Linked DNA regions of Homo sapiens: region 2 is linked to region 1. Evidence: promoter capture Hi-C in human tissues and cell types (Jung and others, 2019). All regions are on one chromosome and are shown on one strand. The core of a region is centred on a gene start or on the middle of the fragment in contact, and the rest is flanking DNA. Distances in the headings are between cores, read along the strand shown. Region 1 holds the start of NAGLU (N-acetyl-alpha-glucosaminidase). Region 2 holds the start of COA3 (cytochrome c oxidase assembly factor 3).

Region 1 (7,472 bases), core at 1-2,500:
AGCGCCATCCAGTCTATCTCTCGCTCCCAGCGGGCCCAGTCCCACCACACGAAAGAGTAGCTTTGCGTGCACACATTCTGGTAATAGCGGTACCTGCGGGCAGTGTCATGAGCAGGGGCGCATCCCACCCTGGAGGGTCCACGGCCCTGGAACAAATCCCCCATCCCCCACCTAGAGGAGAGGGGAGGGGCTCCAAACTCGGCCCTTCTGCTGCACACTGGGACCCACCCCAGGTGGAGCTGAGACCAGGTACCGGGGCTGGGCTTCTGAGGCACTCGTCCCCTGCACTCTCCCAGGGCCCTCTAGCCTGGCGGGTATTTGGGTGGCATATTCCACTTTCATGCCACACTGCCAGAGCCCCTCCTCTGCACGGTGTTTTCCTGGAACGGGGAATCCCTGCCCCCACAGTCTAACAGATGGGCAGGGGAGGACAGCTGTGTGAACACATCACTCCATAGTGTGGCAGGCGCTGGAACACAGGCCTGTAGGGTGGGGGATGGAGGCGTCCTTCCTCAGTCCGCAGGTTCAAAGAGAAGGTGGGGGAGGAAGGCAAGAAAATTCACTCATCACCAATTGTGCACCACAAATTCTATGCCCATCATCGTGCAAATCCTCACAATAACACTGCACGGTAGGCGTCTTCTTTCCGTTTTTCAGGTGGGCCAGCCGAGGCTCTGAAAGGCAGAGTGGCTGGCTCAAGGCCACACAGCTGCTGGAGGCGGCGCAGCTGGGCCTTCCGGCCAGCGCTCCCCGCTCAGCCTCCCGATTTGGGTGGCAGCGGCTCCGGGAGGGGGTAAGCGCCTCGGGCGGACGCGGGGAAGCTTCGGGGCGGTACCTGTTGGGCGTGGCCTCGGTCAGCTCCCCCGGCACGGCTGGCAGTGGCCGCGGCAGGCGCAGCTGAGAGCCGGACCAGGCCACGTGGCAGCCACAGAAGTCGCGCAGGTAGCGGTGCAGCCCCGCGGCGGCCGCCACGCCCGTGGAGCCGCGCACCCGCACGCGCGCCGCGCCGCCGCCGCCCAGGCTGTAGGTGTCCAAGCCCGGCTTGGCAGCCAGAGCGCGCTCCACCGACACGGAGAAGTCGGCCGCGGGGCCTGGCCCCAGCAGCCGGGCCACGAGCGCCCGCACGGCCGCCGCCTCCCGGGCCTCGTCGCCTGCCGCGCCCCCGGCCCCGGCCAGGAGAAGGACCCCCACCGCCGCGGCCACCGCCACCGCCTCCATGGTCTCAGTCCTGCGGGTCCCGCGACGGCCAGGGGGTGGGGCGGCCCGCGTCCAATCAGCTGCCGGCCTCCGGCCACGTGGACCCGAAGGCTAAGCCCGGGCTCAGGGCCAGGAGTCGCGGCTTCCGGGTACCAGGATACTCCCTTGGGGGCGTCTCGTGACCGCACGCGGTGGGGAGCGTGTGACCCCGGCTCCAGGGCCGAAGGGGACCCGCTGGCCCTCACAGAGCGCCTTCGGGTAAAACGCGCTTTCACACGCAAATAACTTCCATCCAACCATCTAATAAATACACATTTGGAGTTTATTTTGTATCAGGCACTGCCATAGCTACTTCCCTACTGATGAACGAGAAGACGGTCCCTACCGTCCCCGTCAGGGAGGTGACCTAGAAACCAGATATTTAACGTAAGTAAGGATTTCCATCATAGTTGTGATGCTGCGAAGTAGTGCAGTAAGTAGCGAAGTAGCGAAGTAAGGTTTCCAAAGGAAGTGACTTTTAATCTGAAACTCAGGGATGAATAGGAATTGGCTAGAAGAGGGAAAGGAAGAGCCTTCCAGACAGAAGAAATGCATTTATTGAAGGCCCTGAGAAGGCAGAGAGCTTGCAGATTTGAGTAACTAACAGGCTAGGAGGTTCGAGGAGGGATGGGGCCATGTGAGCCCAGGCCGGCGGTGGAGCAGGGCTGGCGGGCACGTTAAAGGCTGTCCATTGGCGGCAGCAGCAGCAACATAACAGGAGCTGTCATTTTGTCAGAAGTTTCCAACCAGAGCGACTCCATCTTGAACAGGGGCTGGGTAAAATGAGGCAGAGACCTGCTGGGCTGAATTCCCAGGAGGTTAGGCCTTCGTCACAGGATGAGACAGGAGGTCAGCACAAGATAAAAGGTCACAAGACCCCGCTGATAAAACAGAATGCAGCAAAGAAACTGGTCAAAACCTGCCAAAACCAAGACAGGAAGGTGACCTCTGATCGTCCTCACTGCTCATTATACGCTAATTATAATGCATTAGTATGCTAAAGACACTCCTAGCAGCGCCAGGCAGTTTACAAATGCCATGGCAACGTCCAGAAGTTACCCTATATGGTCTAAACAGTGGAGGAACCTTCAGTTGGGGGGGATCCCCACCCCTTTTCTGAAAAATTCATTACTAACCCACCCCTTGTTTATCATATAATCAAGAAATAACCATAAAAATAGCCAACCTTAGGCCAGGAGCGGTGGCTTACGCCTGTAATCCCAGCACTCTGGGAGGCTGAGGCTTGCAGATCACCTCAAGTCAGGGGTTTGAGACCAGCCTGGCCAACATACAGTGAAACCCCGTCTGTACTAAAAATACAAAAGTTAGCCAGGTGCTGGGCGCGGTGGCTCACGCCTGTAATCCCAGCACTTTGGGAGGCCAAGACGGGCGGATACGAGGTCAGGAGATCAAGACCCTCCTGGCTAACACGGTGAAACTCCATCTCTACTAAAAATACAAAAAATTAGCCGGGCGTGTTGGCGAGCGCCTGTACTCCCAGCTACTCGGGAGGCTAAGGCAGGAGAATGGCGTGAACCGGAGAGGCGGAGGTTGCAGTGAGCCAAGATCACACCACTGCACTCCAGCCTGGGGGACAGAGCAAGACTCCCTCTCAAAAAAAAAAAAAAGAAAAAAAGTTAGCCAGGCTTGGTGGCACACGCCTGTAGTCCCAGCTACTTGGGAAGCTGAGGCAGGAGAATCGCTTGAACGCTGGAGGTGGAAGTTGCAGTGAGCCAAGATCGTGCCATTTGCATTCCAGCCTGGATGACAGAGCGAGACTCCATATCAAAAAAACAAACAAACAAACAAAAAAAGTTGAAAGAGGCCTGGAATCAGATATCAACTTTAGATACTAGGGAAGTATGATTTTTTTTTTTAATCTCAGCTCACGGGAACCTCAGCCACCCAGGTTCAAGCCATTCTCCTGTCTCAGTCTCCTGAGTAGCTGGGATTACAGGCACGTGCCACCAAGCCCAGTTAACCTTTGTAGGGATGGGATTTCACCATGTTGTCCAGGCTGGTCTCGAACTCTTTTTTTTTCTTAAACATTTTATTCATTTTATAGAGAGATTTCTTGTTTGCTTTTGTTCTGATCATTAGGAGAGTGGTTGAGGAGTATTGAATCCATCACTACTTTGATGACACAGGTAAGAGTCCAGATTCACATTTCCAGGTACCAGGAGTTCCCTCTAAATGCCACAATCAAGTCAGCCTTCATTTACATTTCTTTCTGCTGAACACAGCAATGCCCATTGGTATCTCTGAAGCGTAATCGCATCTTAAGTAAAGCAGCTGTTTGGAATTTAACACTCCCCTTCTTTTTTGTCTTATAAACTGAACTGCATCTACGTACTTCATTCCACATTCAATCAAAGCAAGTGCAACCAGCACAGGTGCCCTTCCCAATTCCACAACGCAATGCACTGCAACACAGCAACCTGGCTCTTCACGAAATTTGGTGTTTAACAGGTTTAACCAATCATCTACTATCTGATTAGGGGATGGAGCTCCATCATCAAATGGCCAATCTAGAACGTGGATTCCTTCTTTTTCAACTGGAGCTTTATCATATGTAGCATCACAAACTCAAACCGAAGTCGTCACTCCATACTTCTTAAGTTCCTCTGTGAACTTGTTGAGAGTAGCATTGGTAGGGTTGTGAGTTATCAGAAAACACATGTTCTCATAGGAGATCTCCACAGGGGCTAGACGGTTCATTACGGCAAATAAAAAGTGTGAGCGTGCCTGTGAGTGTGATGGGGAAAGTGAAAAAAAAAATCAATAAATCTTGAAATGTTTAACAACAGAAAACATTAAAAAGACCATGAAAATGCCTATTATCAATCAGTGTTTTCTCTATTCAACTTGTTTATTCCTTATGAAGCTTCTCTCTTCAAGATAAGCAAAGTATTTAGAATCCACTTGAATCCAAATTCAATTTGGGCCTCAATTTCTGCAGATGGATACCTTCGGACTCCAAAAAACCCAACTACATACAAAACTGAAGCAGCCTTTACTACATTTAGGCACTAGTGAGACAAGTTAAAAGTGTAGGTCACTTTCCACTTGTTTACTTGATGCTTAATTTTACTGGAGTCATTCAAAGAAATATGCTTGCAATTAAAAAAAAAAAGCTGGCCGGACGCGGTGGCTCACGCCTGTAATCCCAGCACTTTGGGAGGCCGAGGCGGGCGGATCACGAGGTCAGGAAATCGAGACCATCCTGGCTAACACGGTGAAACCCCGTCTCTACTAAAAACACAAAAAATTAGCCGGGCGCAGTGACGGGCGTCTGTAGTCCCAGCTGCTCAGGAGGCTGAAGCAGGAGAATGGCCTGAACCCGGGAGGCAGAGCTTGCAGTGAGCCGAGATTGCGCCATTGCACTCTAGCCTGGGCGACAGAGGGAAACTCTCTCTCAAAAAAAAAAAAAAAAAAAAAAAAAAAGCTGCCGGGGTGCGGTGGCTCACGCCTGTAATCCCAGCACTTTGGGAGGCCAGGGCGGGTGGATCACGAGGTCAGGAGATCGAGACCATCTTGGCTAACATGGTGAAACCCCGTCTCTACTAAAAATACAAAAAATTAGCCGGGCGTAGTGGCGGGCGCCTGTGGTCCCAGCTGCTCAGGAGGCTGAGGCAGGAGAATGGCGTGAACCCAGGAAGCGGAGGTTGCAGTGAGCTGAGATCGCGCCACTGCACTCCAGCCTGGGCGACAGAGCGAGACGCCGTCTCAAAATAAATAAATAAATAAATAAATAAATAAATAAATAAATAAATAAATAGCCAACTATTTCTGAGGCCAGTCTCGGTGTCCAGAAGTCTTCAAGGCAATGTTAATTATGGCACATAGAACCTCCAAGCTCACTTGTCAGCGAAAACGCTGTGCTCAGCCTGGCAGAAATCTGCTCTCACATTCAGAATCGCCATAAATGTGCAACGTATATTCCAACGAAAAACGCTGGCGAGCTGGGGACTGGGCATTGAAGTCCGGCGGCGGCGGGAGCGAGGAGGTGCCTCTCTCCTCAGTCACCTGGGCGGCGGCGGCGGCGGCGGCTGCGGTAGCGGTGGCGGCGGCTGCGACGACTCCCCCCGAGCCTCGGCGCGCGACGCCCGGCCCGGCGGCGGCGGCGCCTCTCCACCGATCCGTTTTGCTGCTGCTGCGGCCGCCGCTGCATTTCCTGCTGCCGCCGCTGTCCTGTGGCGTCGCCTCGCGCCGTGCCTGGCCGCCGCTGCCGCTCCCTCGAACTCTTGACCTTAAGTGATCCATCTACCTCAGCCTTCCAAAGTGCTGGGATTACTTCTAAATTCTCCAGACAAGTTTTGCCTCCAGATGGCCTGTTTGATGGTCAACATGTGGTCTTTGCTCCTTAGATTGCTCCTTATCTAAATTGCTCAGATAAGAACTTTTTGTCTCCGGGGCCCGTTCGCTCTCTCACCTTTCTTAGGGTCTAGATTGGGACCCCTTTCCAGTAACAATTTTACAGATTGGGAAACAGAGCCAGAGACAGGAAATGACTTCGGCAAGATCAATAACTAGTAAGGAAAGCAGCTCTGGGCTAGAACCGGGAACTCTTAACTTCCAGAGCAGGGTTCTTGCTGCTCTTCCCCAGGCAGTGCAACTTGTCAGGCTGCCTATCTGATCAGGGAGGGCTTGAGTAAGGCTGCTCCGGGGCTGGGAGTGGCCCACTCTCCAGAAGGACTGCACTAGGTGTGCTAGATGTGGTGGCTCACACCCGTAGTCACAGCACTTAGGGAGGCCGAGGCAGGTGGAGCGCTTAAGTCCAGGAGTTCGAGACCAGCCTGGGTAACATGGAGAAACCCTGTCTCTACAAAAATCATCTGGGCACAGTGGCCTGTGTTTGTGGTCCCAGCTAGCTCCTCAGGAGGCTGAGACAGGAGGACGGCTTGAACCCAGGGGTTTGAGGCTGCAGTGAGCCATGACCACACCACTGCACTCCAGGCCAGGCAACAGAGTAAGACCCTGACTCAAAAAAAAAAATGTCTAGCCCATTGCAGTGGCCCCTGATCCTAAGAGGTTGAGGCAGGCAGATCACTTGAATCTAGGAGTCCAAGACCAGCCTGGGCAACAAGGCAAAACCCCTCCTTCTCTACAAAAAATACAAAGATTAGCCCAGCATGATGGCATGTGCCTGTGGTCCCAGCTACTGAGGAGGTTGAGAGGGTAGGCTCGCTTGAGTCTGGGAGGTCAAGGCTGCAGTGAGTCCAGATGGCACCACAGCACTCCAGGCCAGGGACTGAGCAAGGTAACACATTATCATCTGTTTATTTAAGGCTCTGTAAACAGTGGTTGTGGGAGGGAGGGGGAGATTCAGGGACACTGTGAGTGAAAGACTTTTATAATAGGGTCTTTAGTACTGTTTGATCCTTTTTTTTTTTTTTTTGAGATGAGTCTCGCTCTGTTGCCCAGGCTGGAGTGCAGTGGTGCCATCTCCTGTCTCAGCATCCCAACTAGCTGGGACTACTGGCATGTCTTGGGGTGGGGGGAGGGGTCTCAAAAAAGAAAGAACTTACTGACAACAGTATAGGTTTGGAAAAGGAAAGTTTATTAGAAAGGAAGAACACTGCAGCAGAGTGCAGCAGGTGCCTCCACGGGAGGACTGAGTGCGCTGTGGTGGATTTTCCTTAGGAGCATGTATGGACCTTAAGGTGAGAGCTTAGGGTTGTAAAATGAGCTTCAGCATGGCATAGAATGTACAGAAATTTTACGTTGTGAGGGCAGAGCCCTCAGGAATGGGGTTGGTGCCTTTGTAAGGGAGGCCAGAGAGAAAGCCCTACCCCTTTCTACCATGTGAAACCACAGTGAGAAGGCATAGCTCATAAAGCAGGAAGTGAGCCCCCACCAGACACTGAATCTATAAGCACCTTGATCTTGGACTTCCTAGCCTCCAGAAGTGTGAGAAATAAGTGTTTGTTGAATTTTTTTTTTTTTTTAAAAAGAATGTATAGACATTTTAGTTACTTATAAAAGTTGAAAGAGGCTTGGAATCAGATGCCGACTTTAAATACTAGGGAAGTTTTTTTTGTTTGTTTTTTCTTTTGAGACAGAGTCTCCCTCTGTCGCCCAAGCTGGAGTGCAGTGGCCTGATCTCAGCTCACTGCAACCTCTGCCTGCTGGTTCAACCAATTCTCCTGTCTTAGTCTCCTGAGTAGCTGGGATTACAGGCATGCACCATCATGCCCGGCTAATTTTTGCAGGGAGGGTGTTTCATCATGTTGGCC
Region 2 (7,472 bases), core at 3,475-5,974, 260 kb before region 1:
AGGCTGACTGAGTGCCAAAGACAAGGGCTTACCAAGCCCCCTCAGTGACCCTTGAGCCTTCCTGTGGGTTTCAGCTGATAAAAGGCTTGGCCAGTTACACACAAACATACCAGCTGGTCTATGTGACCTCTACACCATGCTGGGAACCCCCAGCTTCAAGGAAGATTCTTGGATGGATAAAAACCCTAACTCCTATATTCTGTTTTCTGTGGAATGTTGGCAGGAACAGAAAGATCCCTCCTGGAGCTTTGATATTCTTTATGACACTGTTTGTTTAGTAACCACCCTCTGGAGAACTCCCATTGCTTTACAAACACAAGTCACCTTACAGCTGGACACCATCTCTCCACCACCAGTTTGCTGGGTAAATCTGTGGTGGCTGAGCCTCTCCCCAGGAGCAAGTGTGTTACTGTGAAGTGGCTTGTTTTGAAGAAACATCCCCTAAATTGGAGAACATAGCCCAATTTAGGGGGAGGGAGTCATTGGGAAGGTGGGAAGGGTGAGATACCTTGGCAAGATTTTAGCCTGCCTCTGTTTCTCTTTGAAAGAACAGCTCCAGATAGAATTATATTTATCTTGCAATATCATTAGAGGGTGGAAACAAGGGTAAATGTCAGTTCTCAACAAAGAAAGCTCCTACAGACTGAAGACCTTTTAGCATTGATCCGTAGAGAATTACACATTTAGTCAAATAATCATATGTCTTCAGAGAAAACTTAACTTTCTTAGAAAATTTAGTCAAGCTTACACAAGTAACAATCTACTCAACACACATTACACATAGATAGATGTACAAAACCTCATCGTTACAGAGGCTACAGTTTGGCTAGCAATGTCCAATGCAGGACAGAATTAGTTTAAGCAATTCAGCATAATACCCTAGAACATATAATTGTGTCTCTTATTAGTCATTTTATTTGCTGGACTTTAGGCTTTATTTCTTAGTTTTGTTCTTTGTGTATGTGTGCAGTTGTTAAGTTTTGGTTTGGTTTTGCTCTGAATTATCTGAGCATTTGTTTCTGTTTTCCATTTTAATTTGCCAAAAAAACTGAGCTTGGATTAGGTGGAATGGATGAGGGTTACACCTTTCCCTTGCTATTGGCCCCACCTCCTCGATAACAAGCATACTCAGATCTGCTATTAACTAAAAGACCCTCCCCTTTTAACCTCTCTCTTTCCCATCACTGTTGAATTTTTTTTTAAATAAATAAATAAATAAATAATAAATAGACGGGATTGTCCTATGTTGCCCAGGCTGGTCTCAAACTCCTGGGCTCAAGCAATCCTCCCATCTCAGCCTCGCTGTTGAATTACTTGAAAGCCTGGCTTACACACCCACTGCTTCCACTTCATCGTTCACTTCCTAATTTTCTATCTGTTGGCTTCTACCTTTCCTAACTTGCTGAAATGATTCTCAGAGGACAGTAAATATGTCCAAATTGTTAAATATCATGGCTTTTTGCAATCTTTAGTTCTGTTGATATCCCTAAAGCATCTGAAACTTCTGACCATTATCCTTTTCAAAGTCTCCTCTTGGCTGCCAAAAGTCCCTTGGTTCTGTTCCTATCTCCTCCTTTTATTTCCTTCACAAGTCTTCTTACTCCAATTCCCTGAACACAAAGTGTTTTCCCAAGGAACTGTCCTTGACCTGCTTTTCTTTTCTCCTTCTAGGAGCTTATCCTCTGCCACAGTTTCAACAATATCATTGTGAAGATAACTTGAAAACCTTGATCTCCATTTCTGACCTCTCTTCTAACCTACTCTTTGAATAGTCTACAAGAACACTTCTTTTAGATGTTCTGCAAACACCTTAAACTCAGCAGATCCAAAACTAAAGCTATTATACACACACACACACACACACACACACACACATATATTATATATATATATATATATATATATATATATATATATTTTTTTTTTTTTTTTGAGACAAGGTCTCACTCTGTTACCCAGGCTGGAATGCAATGGCGTGATCTTGGCTCACTGCAACCTCTGCCTCCCGGGTTCCAGCCATTCTCCTGCCTCAGCCTCCCAAGTAGCTGGGATTACAGGTACCTGCCACCATGCCTGGCTAATTTTTGTATTTTTAGTAGAGATGGGGTTTCACCATGTTGGCCAGGCTCCAAAGCCATTATTATCTTTCCCAAACAAAAGTCACTTTTCCTCCTGCTTTATTTATGTAGTGTGTCTGTGTTTTTTGTGTTGTTTTTTTTTGTTGTTGTTTTTTTTTTTTTTGGGAGACAGAGTCTTGCTCTGTGGCCTAGGCTGGAGCGCAGTGGCACAATCTTGGCTCACTGCAACCTCCGCCTCCCAGGTTCAAGCCATTCCCCTGCCTCGGCCTCCCGAGTAGCTGGGACTACAGGTGCCTGCCACCATGCCCAGCTAATTTTTGTGTTTTTAATAGAGACAGGGTTTCACTATGTTGGCCAGGCTGGTCTCGAACCCCTGACCTCGTGATCCACCCGCCTCAGCCTCTCAAAGTGTTGGGAATACAGGCGTGAGCCACCGTGCCCGGCCGTGTCTGTGTGTTTCTTTTAATGACCACTATACTTCCAGTCTTCCAGGCTCAACCGTTTAGCATAGTCACGTTTTCCTCCTTCACTTCCTAAATTTATCCACAGCAGAACCCTAGACTTTGCCTCTAGAATGTTTTTAATCCACCCTCCCTTGTTATTCCCTCTGCCCTATCACCTAGCCTACTGACATTGACTCTACCTGTCTGCCTACATCCCATCTCCCTCTGGTTTAATCCATCCTTTACCTCCTTTACATCACTGCCAAAATAATGTTTACTAAGGCAGGGTTACCATCGTATCCCTTATTTTAAAACCTTCACTCCCTTATTTAAAAACCTTCAATGTCTTCTTGGTTTCCTACCAAACCAAGGATAAACTCTTCCCCTTGGCATTCAAACTTCCACATGGAATGTCTCCAAACTACCTTTCCAGTATTAATTTCAACTATTCTTCCACATGCACTGGCCAACATGGACTACACTGTACCCACATGCACCCTAAGCACCCCATTTCCATAGCTTTACTCATGCTACCTCTTTTTGGTAGAAACACTGTCTCCTTCCTCCCCCTTCACCAACCCAATGTCCTCCTTCCTTCAAGGTCTGCCTGAAATGTCCCGATGCCTGGGCCATCCCCTGAATTCTTCCTATTACCCCATCGCTCCTCTCAACCCCCATAAACGCTTGTTTTATTTCTCTCTGACGTCTCTTATCTAACCATAGTACCTAGTCATTGCATATTTGTTCTAATATCTCCCCCAAATTGCACATGGTTTGAAGGCAAGACCTCTATCTCTATTTCATCTTTCTTTTCTCTTTTTTTTTTTTTTTTTTTTTAGACAGAGTCTCGCTCTGTCACCCGTCACTCAGGCTGGAGTGTAGTGGCGCCATCTCAGCTCACTGCAAGCTCCGCCTCCCGGGTTCATGCCATTCTCCTCCCTCAGCCTCCGGAGTAGCTGGGACTACAGGCGCCCGCCACCACACCCGGCTTTTTTTTGTATTTTTAGTAGAGACGGGGTTTCACCATGTTAGCCAGGATGGTCTCGATCTCCTGACCTCGTGATCTGCCCGCCTCAGCCTCCCAAAATGCTGGGATTACAGGCGTGAGCCACCGCGCCCAGCCTTTTTTTTTTTTTTTTTTTTTTTTTTTTTTTGAGACGGAGTTTCATTCTTGTCGTCTAGGCTGAAGTGCAATGGCACGATTTCGGCTCACTGCAACTTCCGCCTCCTGGGTTCAAACAGTTCTCCTGTCTCAACCTCCCGAGTAGCTGGGATTAGAGGTGCGCGCCACCAGTCCTGGCTAATTTTTGTACTTTTAGTAGAGACAGGATTTCACCATGTTGGTCAGGCTGGTCTCGAACTCCTGACCTCAGGTGAACCTCCCACCTCAGCCTCCCAAAGTGCTGGGATTACAGGTGTAAGCCACCATGCCTGGCCCTCTATTTCATCTTTCTAGCCAAGCGGTGCCACTCAAGTATTCCATACATGTCGAAGAAATCAAGGGGAGGGCACTGTTGTGACTTATCCATCACTATATCCCCAGCACCCCACAGAGAGGTGTTAGCAAACATTCTCTGAATGAATAAAATCAACGGAATCTCAAGGTCGGTGCCTGAAAGACACAAGCCCCAGTCTCCCAAGAACCCAGCACCCCGGCCCTGCAGCCGCACCCACGATCTGGGGCTCCCTGAAGCGGCCCAGCCGCCCCGAAGCCTCCCTCACTGCTTGCTCATTCTGCTGGGCCAAGTGAAGCAGGGCGTCTTCAATCGTCTCTGTGGCGACAACTCCAAACTGAAAGTCAACGAGGGAGGCCGATCGTGGCCTCATGGGTCCGTCCATATTCACGAGCCTCTTGGGGCACCTGGACGGGTTCACTGGATCCACATACCGACCCCCTTAGCTCCTCTCCAGTCTTCTGCCACACCCTGGATTCCTCGTCCCCTTCCAATGAGTGTGTCGTCGCCTCAAGTCTGAGGAAAACCCAATTACCACCACAGCCTCGAACCCTCCACAGCTTTTTCCCGCCCCAACGGCCACGGACTCCTCAGCCAATCAGAAAGCACGTCCGCTTCTCACCTCCCGCGTCCATCCCCTGTGCCCGGGAACCGCGGCTCTGCCCCGCAAAGGGCACGCGGACTACAACTCCCAGAGTCCACTGCAGCGGCCAAGGGCTACTGTTCCCAGCGAGGCCCGCGCGGCGGCACCGCGAAGGGAGGAGTGGCAACATGGCGTCTTCGGGAGCTGGTGACCCTCTGGATTCTAAGCGTGGAGAGGCCCCGTTCGCTCAGCGTATCGACCCGACTCGGGAGAAGCTGACACCCGAGCAACTGCATTCCATGCGGCAGGCGGAGCTTGCCCAGTGGCAGAAGGTCCTACCACGGCGGCGAACCCGGAACATCGTGACCGGCCTAGGCATCGGGGCCCTGGTGTTGGCTATTTGTATCCGTCCGTGTTGTAGACTCAAGGGGACCGCATATAGGGGCAGGGGAACAGAGTGTGCAAGAGGGCTGAACCACCCGTTTAATTTTGGGGTAAAATGGGTAGTACTTTCCTTTGTTATTCCTAAGGTACTCTTTTAATTTGATTTATTAATAATAACGGAATTGGGGTTCAGGGTTTAGAAACAGCAGCGGCGGGAAGCCGGAATCACTGATTTGGGAGAGTAACAAGAGTGGTAGAGCAAATCTAGGAAAGGGGAATGTGCATATTCTGTGTGGTTTCCTGAACCTACCTCCCCAGATGGTTACACCTTCTACTCGATTTCCCAGGAGCGTTTCCTAGATGAGCTAGAAGACGAGGCCAAAGCTGCCCGAGCCCGAGCTCTGGCAAGGGCGTCAGGGTCCTAATCTGGATGGGTATTGATCATGTCCAACCTGCTGGAGCCCCTTCACATGGTGGATGATGCCCCATGACCCTGTAGAAATTGAATCCTGCTCACAACATTGTTGGCCTTCTTACTAACCTTGGACCGTGATTGAGCCCAAGAAACCAGGGACTTACGCATTTGGCCAATGTCAAAAGAACAGAACTTTGCCCACTGCACACTTGCTGTGTACAATGACTGAGCCCTTTCTTGTAGTTTGTTTCCTTGTTTGAGAGGTGTGCATGCGACCGTGGCTTTTCCCAAAGTTTCTGACTTTGTGGTTTACCCCCTTCACCTTCCAGGGACGCAGTTGTTACGAGGTTAGACGTGGCAGCTCTGTGCAGTGTTTGAGCCTACAGTGGGATACATAGGGTCAAATTGAGAATAATAAACTGAGTCATTCTCCTGGAGTCAAGTGAGTATGGAGGCTGAGAGGCAGCATATGGCACTTCATGCTGGAAAGCTTCACAAGCAGTAGCTGCAGTGGTGGCATTGCCCCAGGGAGCTGTAAATGTTTAACTAGAATTACTTTTTCCATGAGATCTTTCCACCTGATTTAAGGGAGAGATCACTGGGCAGTTTGAGACTGAACCCACGTCTTAGGGGAAGGAAGGTCACTCTTCTGTCCTCTACCCACAAGAACATACTGTAACTCTACTGCTTTTCCCATCCCCAGAGAGAGGGAGGGAGAGAGAGGTGGATGAAGGGTGAAAGACAAGCAGTCTTCATTCTTTTAACTTTCCCTGGTACCTGCCTATACAGGTCTAGGGTGGGGTCTGGAGGGGATCCTAACTTAGTCAAGTGGATCACTGACCTTGCAGTTTCCTCATTAACTGATGGCAGGAAGCCAGAGGGCTGGGCAGCTTCCACCCCTGCCTCCCATTGTGAAAAGAAAGTCCCTTTTAAATCCTCCCCTGCCTCACCCCACAAGTCTTTGCTCCCCCAATTCCTAAGGCATGGCATATGGATTCACGGCGTTCTTGTTTCCAGCATTTTTATTGGTTGCTGCTAATGTGGTGTGAGCATATCCCCTACACTCTCCCAGCTGGGAGTGGGCCCCTCTAGAAGCATCCAGGCTTGGGTGGGATTGCTTAGTGGTTGACTCTTGGCAGGGGAGGTGCTAGAGATGAAGATGGTAGGCAGCAGAACTAACACCTCCACACAGCAAACAGTTCACATATGTTTGGCTCTTCACTATAATGGAGCTGCACTCTCCATGCCCCCCTGGCCTTCTACCCCTTCAGTGTTGGGATCTTCCTTGCTCAGTTTTGTTGATCAGAAAGCATCAGATTCTGAGAACACAAGCTCCATGGTGGGCCCTGGTGTGGGGGAGATACATGGCTTCTGTTCTGAATTCACTGGAGGGAAAAGAAAAAGTGATGAAGAAACCTCCAAGGTGGGAGGAAGGCGAAGCTGCAGCCAGGTACCATTCCCTGGGCTCTCCCTCCCTTGGGCCCGCCCTCACCATCCTGCCAACATCCCCGGCGAATGTCACCCCCTTGCTTGCCCGCTGCTCCTGGGAGCCGGTGCTGCTGCCACTCAGAGAGTTCCTTCGCATGATGCCTGGGAGCAGGATGGGGGAAGGAGAGCACTAAGTGAGGAAAGGGGAGGTGGGGAGAGGGGGTCTATTCCCCCGGGGCAGACCCCCAGGGCCTGGAGAAAAACAGTCGACAGAAAGGGGTCTCAGGGAAAAGATGGAAGCTGGGTGACTGCAGTCTCACCAGGGCCTGGGGGCTCAGAGCGCTGTAGGCTGTTGCGGCGGGAGGTGGGGAAGCTGCCCTTGGAGAGGCGGCGCTGGCGGCTGGACAGCATAGCAGCTGGGGCCACAATACCCGGTGGGGGCTGCTTCCCCAGCCGGCTGTACAAATCTTCAATTTCTTTTTTCTGTAGTGTCTGTAGTGTTTCCACCTCTGACAAGTGCCTGAGGATGCACGGAGGGCATGAAAGGGCTAGCCACACACCTTGCTCTCCCAGGTTCTCCTCTCACTCCTCCATCCTCCCGAGACTCACTTCTGCCGAAGACTCTGCAGCTCAGCCCAGAACTCCTCATCTTCCCCACTGCTTTCTGACTCCTCGCTGCTCAAACAC

Evidence for each region. The method cuts DNA at HindIII sites, captures the fragments that hold promoters and counts their contacts. A contact is called where the count stands out against the background at its distance.
Region 2: the fragment with the promoter of COA3 here is called in contact with the fragment with the promoter of NAGLU in region 1 in 2 of the 25 tissues and cell types used here (bladder and mesenchymal stem cells).

What each region holds. Positions count from the first base shown.
Region 1 is chr17:42,530,019-42,537,490 of GRCh38, reverse strand. NAGLU (N-acetyl-alpha-glucosaminidase) reads right to left here and starts at 1,250. Exons shown (of 6, transcript NM_000263.4): 1 at 836-1,250; 2 at 1-93. The coding sequence starts at 1,218. It also overlaps the pseudogene PTP4A2P1. RefSeq lists silencers at 748-817, 938-1,347, 5,212-5,361 and enhancers at 207-944, 1,458-1,537, 4,802-4,851. The HindIII fragment of the contact is 7,033 bases long and covers 160-7,192 here.
Region 2 is chr17:42,795,956-42,803,427 of GRCh38, reverse strand. COA3 (cytochrome c oxidase assembly factor 3) reads left to right here and starts at 4,724. Exons shown (of 2, transcript NM_001040431.3): 1 at 4,724-4,960; 2 at 5,261-5,803. The coding sequence starts at 4,747. The coding sequence ends at 5,367. CNTD1 (cyclin N-terminal domain containing 1) reads right to left here and starts at 4,567. Exons shown (of 7, transcript NM_173478.3): 1 at 4,192-4,567. The coding sequence starts at 4,360. WNK4 (WNK lysine deficient protein kinase 4) reads right to left here. Exons shown (of 19, transcript NM_032387.5): 16 at 7,395-7,472; 17 at 7,106-7,305; 18 at 6,850-6,947; 19 at 6,362-6,742. The coding sequence ends at 6,740. RefSeq lists enhancers at 4,712-4,761, 4,782-4,831, 4,972-5,041. The HindIII fragment of the contact is 12,523 bases long and covers 1-7,472 here.